Linked DNA regions of Homo sapiens: region 1 is linked to region 2. The links are contacts of gene promoters, found by promoter capture Hi-C in human tissues and cell types (Jung and others, 2019). All regions are on one chromosome and are shown on one strand. Each heading gives the region's core, a stretch centred on a gene start or on the middle of the fragment in contact. The rest is flanking DNA. Distances are from core to core; before and after follow the strand shown.

Evidence for each region. Contacts are between HindIII fragments. The study calls those that stand out against the background at their distance.
Region 1: a fragment that was not itself captured here is called in contact with the fragment with the promoter of MRPL33 in region 2 in 1 of the 25 tissues and cell types used here (dorsolateral prefrontal cortex).

Annotation. Positions count from the first base shown.
Region 1 is chr2:28,100,547-28,106,634 of GRCh38, forward strand. All of the region lies in intron 6 of BABAM2 (BRISC and BRCA1 A complex member 2), which reads left to right. Among named protein-coding and RNA genes, the nearest start is that of MIR4263, 110 kb to the left of the region's middle. The HindIII fragment of the contact is 5,252 bases long and covers 1-4,439 here.
Region 2 is chr2:27,766,577-27,773,018 of GRCh38, forward strand. It overlaps MRPL33 (mitochondrial ribosomal protein L33), which reads left to right and starts at 5,143. Exons shown (of 4, transcript NM_004891.4): 1 at 5,143-5,223; 2 at 6,098-6,116. The coding sequence starts at 5,202. RefSeq lists a silencer at 1,172-1,372 and enhancers at 4,785-4,904, 5,138-5,954, 5,195-5,324. The HindIII fragment of the contact is 4,142 bases long and covers 2,440-6,442 here.

The sequences.
Region 1 (6,088 bases), core at 564-3,063, 330 kb after region 2:
CCCGTTCCTGCCGTTGTGAGCAGATTCTTTTGTGTATCGCCTTCTAATCTCCAAACTCAATAAATGATTTCAGTACATGTAACTATTCAAATAATAATATCAGGAAGCACAAACAAGAGACACTGGAAAGGAGACCATGACTAGAAGAGAGAAGTTGCTACTTGTTGAGATTTTGTGCCTGCAGAAGCATAACGACTAGAAAGCTCGATGCCAAATGAAGGGGCAAGTGTGGGCTGTTGGTCCATGAGGCGTAACACTGAATTCAAAGTCAAGGGCATGTATGTGGGCCTGGCCAGGAGCGAGTAGGTTCTAAGGGGGCAGCTGTTGTGGAGGTACTCATTCATCATGGTCAGGAGGAAGAAATTGGTTTTGTACAGACAGGCAAGGATTTGACAACAGAGTTTACATACAGAGAAGGCAACAGATAGGTATCATTTCCAGGGAAGCAGGCAAAGCCCAGTGTCCACAGATAGCAGGGAACAGGTGGGTCAGATAGTCCCAAGATGATCTGGGATAACAGTGCCAATAATGGTGGCTACTATTACTGATACAGCAGTTTTATAACTTCTCATTTTATAGTTGAGGAAATAGACTCATCCAGGTTTTAAATAACTTATCCAGCCAGGTTGACATAGCCAGTAAGCGATGAAGCTATGATTCTCACTAGTCTGTCTAACTCCAAAGTCTGTGATCTTTCTACTCTACCATATTGCCTGATATCTAGCATGCATGGACTCATTCACACATGATTCAAACAGCTGACACAACAGGGTTATGGCTGCCGAACCTATGACAGAGTTTGTCTTTTTTTAGATCTGGTTTTACCATATTTGGTGTGTGTTAACAAGAATGGGCAGGTATATGTTGGCATGTGAAGTGAGACACAGGGCCTCCCAAATTCTTGTCACTGAGATGATGATAATTTTAATGCTCCTCTGCCTAGTTCTCTGCACCCATGTAAGTTATGGAGCAGAGTGAGGGCTGAGATAGAGTCTGTCTTTCCAAGCTGTGAATTACAGGGCCTCACCTGTGGTTGTCCTATCCCCAGTCCATGTGGGGAACCTGCAGACCTCCTAACATGCCCCATATAGTAAGCCATACAGTTGTGTTGATTTTTATCTCACCCTCTTAGAATTTCTACTGTTTGTGCATGTTTTATGATGTTCATAATGTATTAGTACATAGGTTCATCTATATAGCTTATAAATAAATACATATAAACATATTGATAGGAAGCTCACACATTTTTTTATTGCTCTAAGGCAATAGACCCCAAACCTGGATGGGCAGTTCAATCCCCTTGTAAGTTAAAAAATCATATTTCCTTGACTTACCCACACTTACTGAATCATAATCCCCAGGGCAGGGTTCAGGAATGTGTGTTTTTTAACAAATGCTAGAACTTGAACCACTGCAGTAGCTCTCTGTAGTTGCTAGAAAAAAATCTTGGTATCAATTGTTGTAAATAAACCATTGGAAACAAGATAACTCCTATAGTGTTTTGAAGGCTATTTATGAATTGGCTGACTTGTTTATTCGTCATCCCCTGCTGAAAGGTAGGCTCTAAGAGGAGGGCCATTATCTAGCTTGTTCACCAGTTGTTCCTAGAATAGTGCCTGACACGTAGAAGTGCACAGTGAATATTTTTTGAATAAATAAATGAATAATGAAACGCTTTTTCACTGTGCTTGGGTAATACATGTCCCTTTTTCCCTCAATACCAGAGAAAGAATTGGTTTCAGCTGTGCCGTTGTAAATTTGAATGATCTGATAAAAATCCTTGGTTACTCCACTGAACCGACTGCAATTTTTTTAATGTCTAAAACATACTTATTCTCATATTTTGTTACATTTTAATACCATTTAAGAGTAGTAGAATTTGGAAGGTGACATAGAGATCCACTTTTATTTCATTTTCATTTCAAGCCCCTGTGTCTTTAAGGAAAGGGCTAAGCTACAACTTGGTCATTCTCCAGATCCAAGAGGAAATGGATTGGAGCAGTTGTGCCTTTGTAGAGCAGATGTTTTGGTTGGAAAGGCTATCAGCCATCTGACTCATAATAAATTCTCAATTCCAGTAAATTCCCAGTTTTCAGTTACAGTAGGTAGGATGCAGGAAAACAGTGTCTTCCACTTTGGGGTCTTTGAACTTATTTCACATGTTACCACTGTTCCTTGTGCATTACAATGTGCGAACAGACAAAATACTAGGGGAGGTTAGAGCAATTCCAGGAATAGACTCAGTCAGTTGGTGTTTTTGAGAGAGACCATTGGAGGTAAACCAAAGCCACTGCCCTCTCTGACACAGTACTAACCACAAGAAACATAACTGCATTGAGTTTTCTTATAAGTTCCTATGTTAAAATAATGATTTTATATAGGAATCATGTAATAAAATAATGATTTTACAAACTGAATTATGTCAGTTTGAGTAATCTATAAACGGCCTATAGTTTTTTGTTTTGTTTTATGAGGAGGGTTTCCTTTATCCTTTTCATAAAATGCTGAAAGTAATTATATGGTCCTGATGTGATATCTTTCATTTTAGAGTATTTGTTTTTTGGGAAAATTTACTCAATACTTGAACTTATTGAGTAAAAAAAAAAAAAAATTTACTCAGTAAGCTTCTCAAAGTTCTAGTAAGGCCTTATAGCCAGTGTTCCAGATGGATGAAGCAGAATTATGAAAGTGATATTCAACGTGTCCTACTTTGTATTGTGAGCTGAGTTGAGAGAATTCATTATTTACTTAGTATTTTTGTTTTGTTTTGTTTTGTTTTGTTTTTTAGACAGGTTCTTGATCCTGGCTCAGGCTGGAGTACAGTGGTGTGATCACATATCACTAGAGCCACAATCTCCTGGGTTCAATTGATCCTGCCATCTTAGCCTAGTAGCTGACACTATAGACACATGCCACCATGCTCGGCTAATTTTTGTATTTTTTGTGGAGATGGGGTTTTGCCATGTTGCCCAGGCTGGCCTCGAACTCCAGGGTTCAATCCATCCTCCCATCTCAGCCTCCCAAAGTGTTGGGATGACAGGCGTGAGCCACTGCACCTGGCATAAAGTGGTGTCTTATTATCCCCACTCTGTTTTTATCGAGGAGTCAGTTTCTTTTCAACCATCACTGAAGTGGGAAGAATAGTGTACTCCTCACAGAGATGAAAAGGTCCCATTGTTTCTCCAGAGAGCAACAGTCCCATTTCTGCTCTTTATGAGAGCTTCTTAGGTGATCTCTTCTACCAAGTGAGACATTAGAAATTTGGGAGTCAGCAGTTTAGTTGTCCAGAACTCCTAATAGTTCCTAGGTTGGCCTTTGGCTTTTCTTATCCAACATCAAATTATTCACAGATCGTACTGTTTATCTTTATACTCCTCCTATGTCATTTTTTCTTTCCAGTTTTAGCTAAGTGGTTATCATAAACTCAATAAACTCATTTTTTTAACCCTTATATTCTGAGGCACATTTGTAAATCTTTAGAATTGCTAATTAATTCAAGATGGATTAAAGACTTAAATGTTAGACCTAAAACCATAAAAACCCTGGAAGAAAACCTAGGCAATACCATTCAGGACATAGGCATGGGCAAGGACTTCATGACTAAAACACCAAAAGCAATGGCAACAAAAGCCAAAATTGACAAATGGGATCTAATTAAACTGAAGAGCTTCTGCACAGCAAAAGAAACTACCATCAGAGTGAACAGGCAACCTACAGAATGGGAGAAAATTTTTGCAATCTACTCTTTTGACAAAGGGCTAATATCCAGAATCTACAAAGAACTCAAATTTACAAGAAAAAAACAAACAACCCCATCAAAAAGTGGGCGAAGGATATGAACAGACACTTCTCAAAAGAAGACATTTATGCAGCCAAAAAACACATGAAAAAATGCTCACCATCACTGGCCATCAGAGAAATGTAAATCAAAACCACAATGAGATACCATCTCACGCCAGTTAGAATGGTGATCATTAAAAAGTCAGGAAACAACAGGTGCTGGAGAGGATGTGGAGAAATAGGAACACTTTTACACTGTTGGTGGGACTGTAAACTAGTTCAACCATTGTGGAAGACAGTGTGGCGATTCCTTAGGGATCTAGAACTAGAAATACCATTTGACCCAGCCATCCCATTACTGGGTATATACCCAAAGGATTATAAATCATGCTGCTATAAAGACACATGCACACGTATGTTTATTGTGGCACTATTCACAATAGCAAAGACTTGGAACCAACCCAAATGTCCATCAATGATAGACTGGATTAAGAAAATTTGGCACTTATACACCATGGAATACTGTGCAGCCATAAAAAATGATGAGTTCATGTCCTTTGTAGGGACATGGATGAAGCTGGAAACCGTCCTTCTCAGCAAACTATCACAAGGACAAAAAACCAAACACTGCATGTTCTCACTCATAGGTGGGAATTGAACAATGAGAACACTTGGACACAGGAAGGGGAACATCACACATCGGGGCCTGTTGTGGGGTGGGGGGATGGGGGAGGGATAGCATTAGGGGATATACCTAATGTAAATGACGAGTTAATGGGTGCAGCACACCAACATGGCACATGTATACATATGTAACAAACCTGCACATTGTGCGCATGTACCCTAGAACTTAAAGTATAATAAAACATAATAATAATAAAGTAAATTCAGTTTGTGATGTCAAAAAAAAAAGTATTGCTTTAGCATCTCTTCAATGAGGAAAAAGGTAGATTAAATAATGTCCCTGGACTTACCCACTGATGAAAACTAGTATGTGAGAGAGTCCTAGTAAGAGGGAAGAGGCAGAAGATACTGACTGTGGTATGAAGAAGAGAAGGCAGAAATACTTCTCTGAGAACTTGCCTCATTCATCTTTGTCTCTCCCACAATGAAGAGCGTGGTGCCATGGACCTAGGGAGCTACTGGATTGCAGTGGGAAAAGCACAGGCCATGAGTTGAAAAACTTAAGTTTTTTTTCTAGTGCTCTGTTTACTAGAGGAAGATCCTGAACATTTTGCTTAATCTCCTTGAGAAAAGTTCAAATCTTCAAAATAGAAATAATAACAGTATTTATCTTCAAGCGTTGTTGGCGATGTATGTTAAGGTACGATGCATAGCACCCAGACAGAAATAAGCCTTATTAAGCAATTTCAGTAAGAAGCATTGCTGACTTAGGTTTGACTACTTTGGGCCTCAAATCTTGACTCCAGGATCCAGTGGAGATTATTCCAGGTAGACTTCTTTGACCAAGCATGGTGAGATTCTTTAATTTGGGAAAAATAGTTATATTTGGGGGAATTATACATAATTTATCATGCAACTTAGTATAAATATGTACCATAAAACTTGAAAGCATGTGCAATGGGTTTCTAATTTAAAATTCCAGCTCCTGTCTTTTTTTTTTTTTGGTCCTCTTTTAATTCTTTCCTTTAAAAGAAAATTTCAAACGATCTCAAATTTATAATAGAAATGTAAGAACAATAAAAGCACTTTTAAAAAACCATTTGAGACTAAGTTGCTGGTGTGATGGCCTTCACCTCCAAATACTTTAGTATGTATTTCTTAGAAATAAAGGCATTCTCTTACATATTAATAATTGCAATATGGTAAAAAAAAAATCAGGAAATTAACATGGCATACTACTACCATCCAATTCTAAGATCCCATTCAAATTTCACTTATATTGTCCCAATGATTTCTTTGTAGCAGAAGAATTCAGTTTAGTTTTAAATCATTTATCATCATTGTTATTTTTTGTAAGAGATGAGGTGTTGCTGTAGCCCAGGCTGGTCTTGAACTCCTGAGCTCAAGCGCTCCTCCCACCTCAGCCTCCCCTGGCATGACCTACCATGCCTGGTTCAGAATTCAGTTTAGAATCATGTGTGATTTTAGTTGTTTCACTAGTGTGTAATAGTTCCTCAGTTTGTCCTTGACATTTACAACATTTTTGAAGATTATAGGCCAGTTATGTTATATAATTTCTCTCAATTTGGATTTGTCTGATGTTCACTCATGATTAGATCCATTTATGCATCTGTGGCAGGAATATCACAGAGGTGATGTTATATATTTTCATGCCTTCTCTCAA
Region 2 (6,442 bases), core at 3,893-6,392:
GTTTAACCTGTCCGTGAATCCCAGTATTTTACAATCTTGGCATACGTTAGCATCTCCTGGGGAGTTTAGAAAACCCAAAGTCCAGACTACACTCATAAATTATTTTGATTTTTTTTTTTTAACAAAAATAGAGGCAGGATCTCACTATGTTGCCCAGGCTGCTCTTAAACACCTGGCCTCTAGAGAGCCTCCCACCTCAGCCTCCCAAAGTGCTGGGATTAGAGTTGTGAACTGCTGCACCTGGCCTGCACCCAGATAAATTAAATCAGAAACTCAGGGGGTAAGAAACAGGCATAAAGAGTTTATGGCCGGGTGCACTGGCTCATGCCTATAATCCCAGCACTTTGGGAGGCTGAGGTGGGTGGATCGCTTGAGGTCAGGAGTTTGAGACTAGCCTGGACAACATGGCAAAACCCCCATTTCTACTAAAAAATAGAAAAATGAGCTGGGTGTGGTGGTGCGTGCCTGTAATCCCAGCACTTTGGGAGGCCGAAGCAGGCAGATCACTTGAGGTCAGAAGTTTGAGACCAGCCTGGCCAACATGGTGAAACCCCATCTCTACTAAAATTACCAAAAAAAAAAAAAAAAAAAAAAATTAGCCAGGCATAGTGGCATGTACCTGTAATCCCAGCTACTCGGGAGGCTGAGGCAGAAGAATCGCTTGGACTCAGGAGGCAGAGGTTACAGTGAGCTGAGATGCGCCACTGTACTCCCACCTGAGTGACAGAGTAAAACTCTGTCTCAAAAAAAAAGTTTATAAAATTCCCTAGGTGATCCCATTGTACAGCCAATGTTGAGGCCCCCCAGAAAGTGCAGGTAAAATTGTTTGTGGATGGGCATAAGTGCATTTTCTTCTGGAAAAGCTAAGCCATACCTCTCAGCAGATTCTCAAGAGGTGTACAACACCCTCCTCCTTTCTTCTTCAAAAAAGGCTAAGTGACAAAACATAAGGAAGAAGAACTTGCCAATTGTTAAGGAAACACCAAATACATGTGTTAACTAAATAAATAGGCATGAGCATGCAGATCAAGAAAAGTGTCTATTGTTCTCAAGGGGACCTTTGGGGGGCCTTTGGGTGGGATGGGAAAGTCACTGCCACTCTCCCAACTAAGTGGGAAAATGGCTGATTTCAGGTGCTGCCACTGCAGAAATCTTACTTAACTCTTGAGCCTTCCTGCTGCCCACAGAACTAAGCCTGACTCCCAGCTAGAACACTGGTTCTTTCATTGCCTAGCCCCAGCCATCCTTTCTAGCTCACCTCCCTCACTTCACCCCACACTCTAGCCCCAAGAGGATGCTCAATGTGCATTTTTTAGATGCCTTTTTTTTAGGTGCCTTCCCCCAGTTCCTTCCACTCTGCCTGTCTCAGGTTGACTTGGGAGGAAGTGGGACTGAAGGGAGAGAAAATAACTCAAGGCACAGTCCCTTAGTAGAGAAGGTTCGGTCTGTATTTGTCAAAAACGTGAGTGGGATAGCAACCTTCCGTTAGTGCTCCTGCTTGGGGGAGTGGGGGAGATTCAGAAGACCTGGTCCTTGAGGGACTTAGGTCCCATAATAGGAGGCAGACCTGTGATCCAAGGCATGCAGGGAAGCTTAATGGATGCTCTGAGAGGAATCTGTGGAGGGAAGATGTGGGGTGGAATGGGGAATGCAGGGTGAGGAAAGGCTTCATCCCTAAAGAGATTGGCACCCAGCAGCCTCAGTGAAGAGAGATGGGACTGAATTAGGAGGGTGAGGCCAGATGATAGAGGCCATTGAATGCCAACTGGAGGACACCCACTACACACAGGTTGAACCCAGTTGGTGGCCCCAGCTTCACTCGTCTTGCTCCCTCAGGTAGTCTTTGCTATAATGCTAAGCCATTGAGTCTGAGGGCCTGATTTTGAAGCTGTCCCATCTGCCTGTGGTGTCTGAGCTTGTAAAGGTACCAGCTCTTTTCAGGAAGCCCCAGCTTTCTCCTGTAGCGTCTTTCTCCTTCCACTGCCCATGTTCCCAGGCCCCTGGGACAGGTCAGGGAGCCAGGATCACTGATTCTGTAGGCAAGAACAGTGGCTGTACTTCCCAATCACAAGTCAAGCAAGATGTAGGTGTGACAATGGGCTGGATGATGGGCAGCCAGGGGTCTGCCAGCACAGCAGAGGAGGAGGGGTACAGCTTCTAGATCCTCGGGTTTGAATCCCATCACTAAGTGCTGGGAATACAGTGTCTACCAACCCAATACAGATGCTGTGTATGGAGCCCTGACCCAGAGCAGATGTTCTCTTCCTCTATCTGCTTCTCCGGGCTGAGAATCTAGGTTAAACAGCTTGATCTTCTCCTCCCTGTAGCACCCCACCTCCCAAAGAGGGTGCCCCTTCTCTAAGGACTACACTTTTTCCATTTGGGCTGCCAGGATGCTCTAATTGTTATGCACTTTCCTCTAATAAGGCATAGAGGGCTCATTATGTAAATTCAAGGAAAAAAGCCCCAAATCATGAATTACATCTGTATTATAATAAACATTTTAATTAACACTTACCAACTGCCAGCTATATTAGGTATAAATAACAGGTGGATGCAACATGAACTCCTGAGGCTAGAGAGTCACTGCCTCCAGCCTACTCCTTCAAGAATTTCAAGAAATAGTTCATATGCTATCTCTTTTCTTCCTCTCCCCTCTCCCCTCTCCTCTCTTGACATGGAGACTCCCTCTGTTGCCCACGCTGGGGTGCAGTGCTGCTACCTTGGCTCAATGCAACCTCTGCCTCCCAGGTTCAAGCAATTCTCCTGCCTCTGCATCCTGAGTAGCTGGAATTACAGGCGCCCACATCTGGCTAATTTTTTTTTTTAAGTTATTTTTGAGACGGAGTCTTGCTCAGTCGCCCAGCCTGGAGTGCAGTGGTGCGATCTTGGCTCACTGCAGGCTACACCTCCCAGGTTCACGCCATTCTCCTGCCTCAGCCTCCCGAGTAGCTGGGACTACAGGCACCCGCCACCACACCCGGCTAATTTTTTTTTTTTTTTTTTTTTGTATTTTTAGTAGAGATGGGGTTTCACCATGTTAGCCAGGATGGTCTCAATTTCCTGACCTCGTGATTCACCTGCCTCGGCCTCCCAAAGTGCTGGGATTACAGGTGTGAGCCACCGCGCCCGGCCAGTTGTGTTATTTTTTAGTAGAGATGGGGTTTCGCCATGTTGGCCAGGCTGGTCTCAAACTCCTGACCTCAGGTGATCTACCCTCGTCGGCCTCCCAAAATACTGGGATTGCAGGAGTGACCCACTGCACCTGGCTCTTTTCAAAAGCAAGCTTATACATTCTCCTGGATCCTGAAACTATTGACAATACTTAAAGTTAGTTTTTTTTTTTTTGCTATTTAAACATAAATATTGACATTTGTATGGTGCCTCTCACCTCAGATTCATTCATTCAATAGATATTTAATAGATGTAGCAGGCATTGTTGTAGGAACCAGGGATACAGCAGTGAGGGAATAAGCTGAAGTTCTTTTTTTTAATTAAAAAAATTTTTTTAGAGACAGGGTTTTGCTGTTGCCCAGCATTCTGGTAGCCAAAGACAATAGGGAAATCAACAAGTACACAAGTAATACTATTAATGGCAATAAGTGCTGTAGGAAAACATAAAGAAGAGTAAGGAGAATAGAGTTGGGGGCAGGGGCATGGAGTTTAAGAACTGCTATTTGGCTGGGCTAAAGTTAAAGTGACTTTCTAAGGGACAGAACAAGGACTAGAAATCATGTTCCTTGGCTTCCAGTCTTGTGTTTTCTTATAAATCCTCTAAAGGAAATATAAGAAACCTTATCCTCTTGAACATCTGAAGCTCTTTTTTGCCAATGCAAGGTAAGGAAGGATTTCGGCACCTGGAAGGTACTCAGTAGCTGGAGTCCGGTTATGGGAAGATAAATATCAAGAATGATTAGAAGGAAAAAAAGTATTATAGGTACTAAGGAGAAGGACGGTCTTAATTTAAAAAATTGAATTGTATTGTATGGAGAGCTGATTTTTTTCCTCCTCATCTTCTTTGTGATGGCACAGAGAGCTGAATTTTCTTTAAAACAGTTTTATTACTTTTTTTTTTTTTTTTTTTTGAGACGGAGTCTCACTTTGTCGCCCAGGCTGGAGTGCAGTGGCGCTATCTCGGCTCACTGCAACCTCCGCCTCCCGGGTTCAGCTAATTTTTGTATTTTTAGTACAGGCGGGATTCCGCGACGTTGGCCAGGCTGGTCTCAAACTCGTGACCTCAAGTGATCTGCCTGCCTCAGCCTCCCAAAGGGCTGGGATTACAGGCGTGAGCCATGCGATTAAATCTTATTTCACATCTGTAAGACTTCATATGTAGATACAAATCACGGATTAGGAAAAAAATCCAAAAGTCCTGATTATTAGTTGCGAAATGAGGTTACTGACGAGGTCCTTGGTGTTAGAGGAGCCCAGGTTCCTTACAGAGCCATGAAAAATTAATGATTGCAAACTGGTAGGTCCCAATGTCTACTGGGAAAGGCATGAGTCTTTGGAGTCAGATAAAATCTAGGTTTAAATTCTTACTCTGCCACCTGGTAGTTCTGTGATATTAGGCACGTGATGTGAATGCTCTCAATCTGTTATTTGGCTTCTATGTCAGGAACTGTGCTAGGTGTTTGGATACAGAAGTTTGAGATGCAAAGGGTCCTGCCCTCCTAGAGATTGGGATAACTAAGGAAAGGTGGGGTTCTTAATGCCGAAGGGACTCAGAAGAGTGAGAGTAAGGCTTAACCAGGCGGAGAGGGAGTTGGGTCGGGGGAGGCAACATTTTAAGAAAATATGCGAGGGGCTGATACGCTGGAGCGGCCGAAGTACAATACACAGTTGTTCTTGTGGGTCTAATGCAGGTGGTTGCGATTATTTCGTGAAACAAATATGGAAAGCACCTAACGCTGAAAGCACTTGACCCAGAAATAGGAGTCAGGGCCGGGGCGCGAACCCTGAGCTGTAAATCCCTTTCCAGAATGATGAGGATTCCAACCTCCAGCACGACAAAAGCAAAACACACTCGCTCTGAGAAACCGAGGAACGAGCCAGACGACTGGAGGCAGGTTCCAGGCGGGGGGCGTGGCCTCGGGCGACTGCCGGATGTCCTCTTCCAGAACCGGGCCGTGCCCCGGAAGCAGTTGTTGTTGGTTGGGGGCCTTTTGGCCGGTGACGGAGACTGCCCAGGTGTGGTCACCATGTTCCTCTCCGCGGTCTTCTGTAAGTGGGGCTGGAGACGCCGGTAGGGGTTACGGCGAGGGTTAGGGGGCCGTGACAGGCAGGGCCCCGGAATGATGCGGGGAAGGATGTGCGAACAGGACGGGAAGCTGCAGCTGCGTACTTTTCCAGGCCTTCAGGACCACAGCGTCCGGCATGCCCCGCGGCGCGCCTCCCTGCGCGGACCTGTGGGTGCCTGAGAAGGGGTCTGCGGTGTCTGGATTCAATTGCCGTCCTCACGGACCGTTGAGTCTGGCTGTGGGGCGTTTTTCTCCAGCCCGTGTTAGGAGAATCTTTGTCCGAAGGACCTCAGAATTTGCAGCCCACCTATTTCGAACTCTAAAAATAAGGAAACCGCTCCCGAGAGGGGCAATGAATTGCCTGAGTAATGCGGCAGGGCAGTTAAAGAAGTCCTCGGGCTCCCGAGTCAGTGCTCTTCTTTACCCTTGGCTGACTTCCCAGTTAGATTTAGTATCTGGTTTTCACCACATGTGATGGTTGTTGTAATTTGCAAAGGTTAAACTTGTCAAACAAGAAGCTTGCTGCAGCGCGAATACTTGCACCTTAGAAGAGGGAAAAAATGGAGCAGGTATTACTTTAGAAAGATTTAAAAGGTAGCCAGTCCAACAGTCATGAAATTATGCAAAATATTAAATCTAGAATTGTGTTGGTCTGATTGGATCTTTTAACCTTCCTTCTATAAAATCCTAAGGGGATCCCTAATAGATAGGGAATAGTTACTTGAGTGACACCTCATGGCATATTTCATAAGTTAAATATTTTTGGTTATTACTGATATTTATATGAACTTTGCATAAGAAAGAGAATACATTTATATTTTTATTTTCTTTTCCAACCCTTCCTGTCTACAAAAAAGTTGCCAAGAGCAAGTCAAAGTAAGTAAAGATTTTTCCTTTTTTAAACGTCACTTGTTTATGTTGGATTTGTTAGTCTAGCTGCTCCCAGTACATCCTTATATGAAATTAAGCATTGGGCCTTGATTTCCTAAGAGTTGGTTTGTGGATTACTTAGTTGATTATTTTTTCTTTATGAACTCTTTCAAAAATATTTTCCCTCCTGCTGAACTGAGCTACTTCTGTGAGCATTGAAATACTTGAAGGAACCTTTGCTGCTTTTCTAGTCCCAGGATTTGTGAGCTCACTGTCTGTTTCTAAACAAACCATTGGGCTGTGCTGTATTTGGACTACCACCATATTTCCAT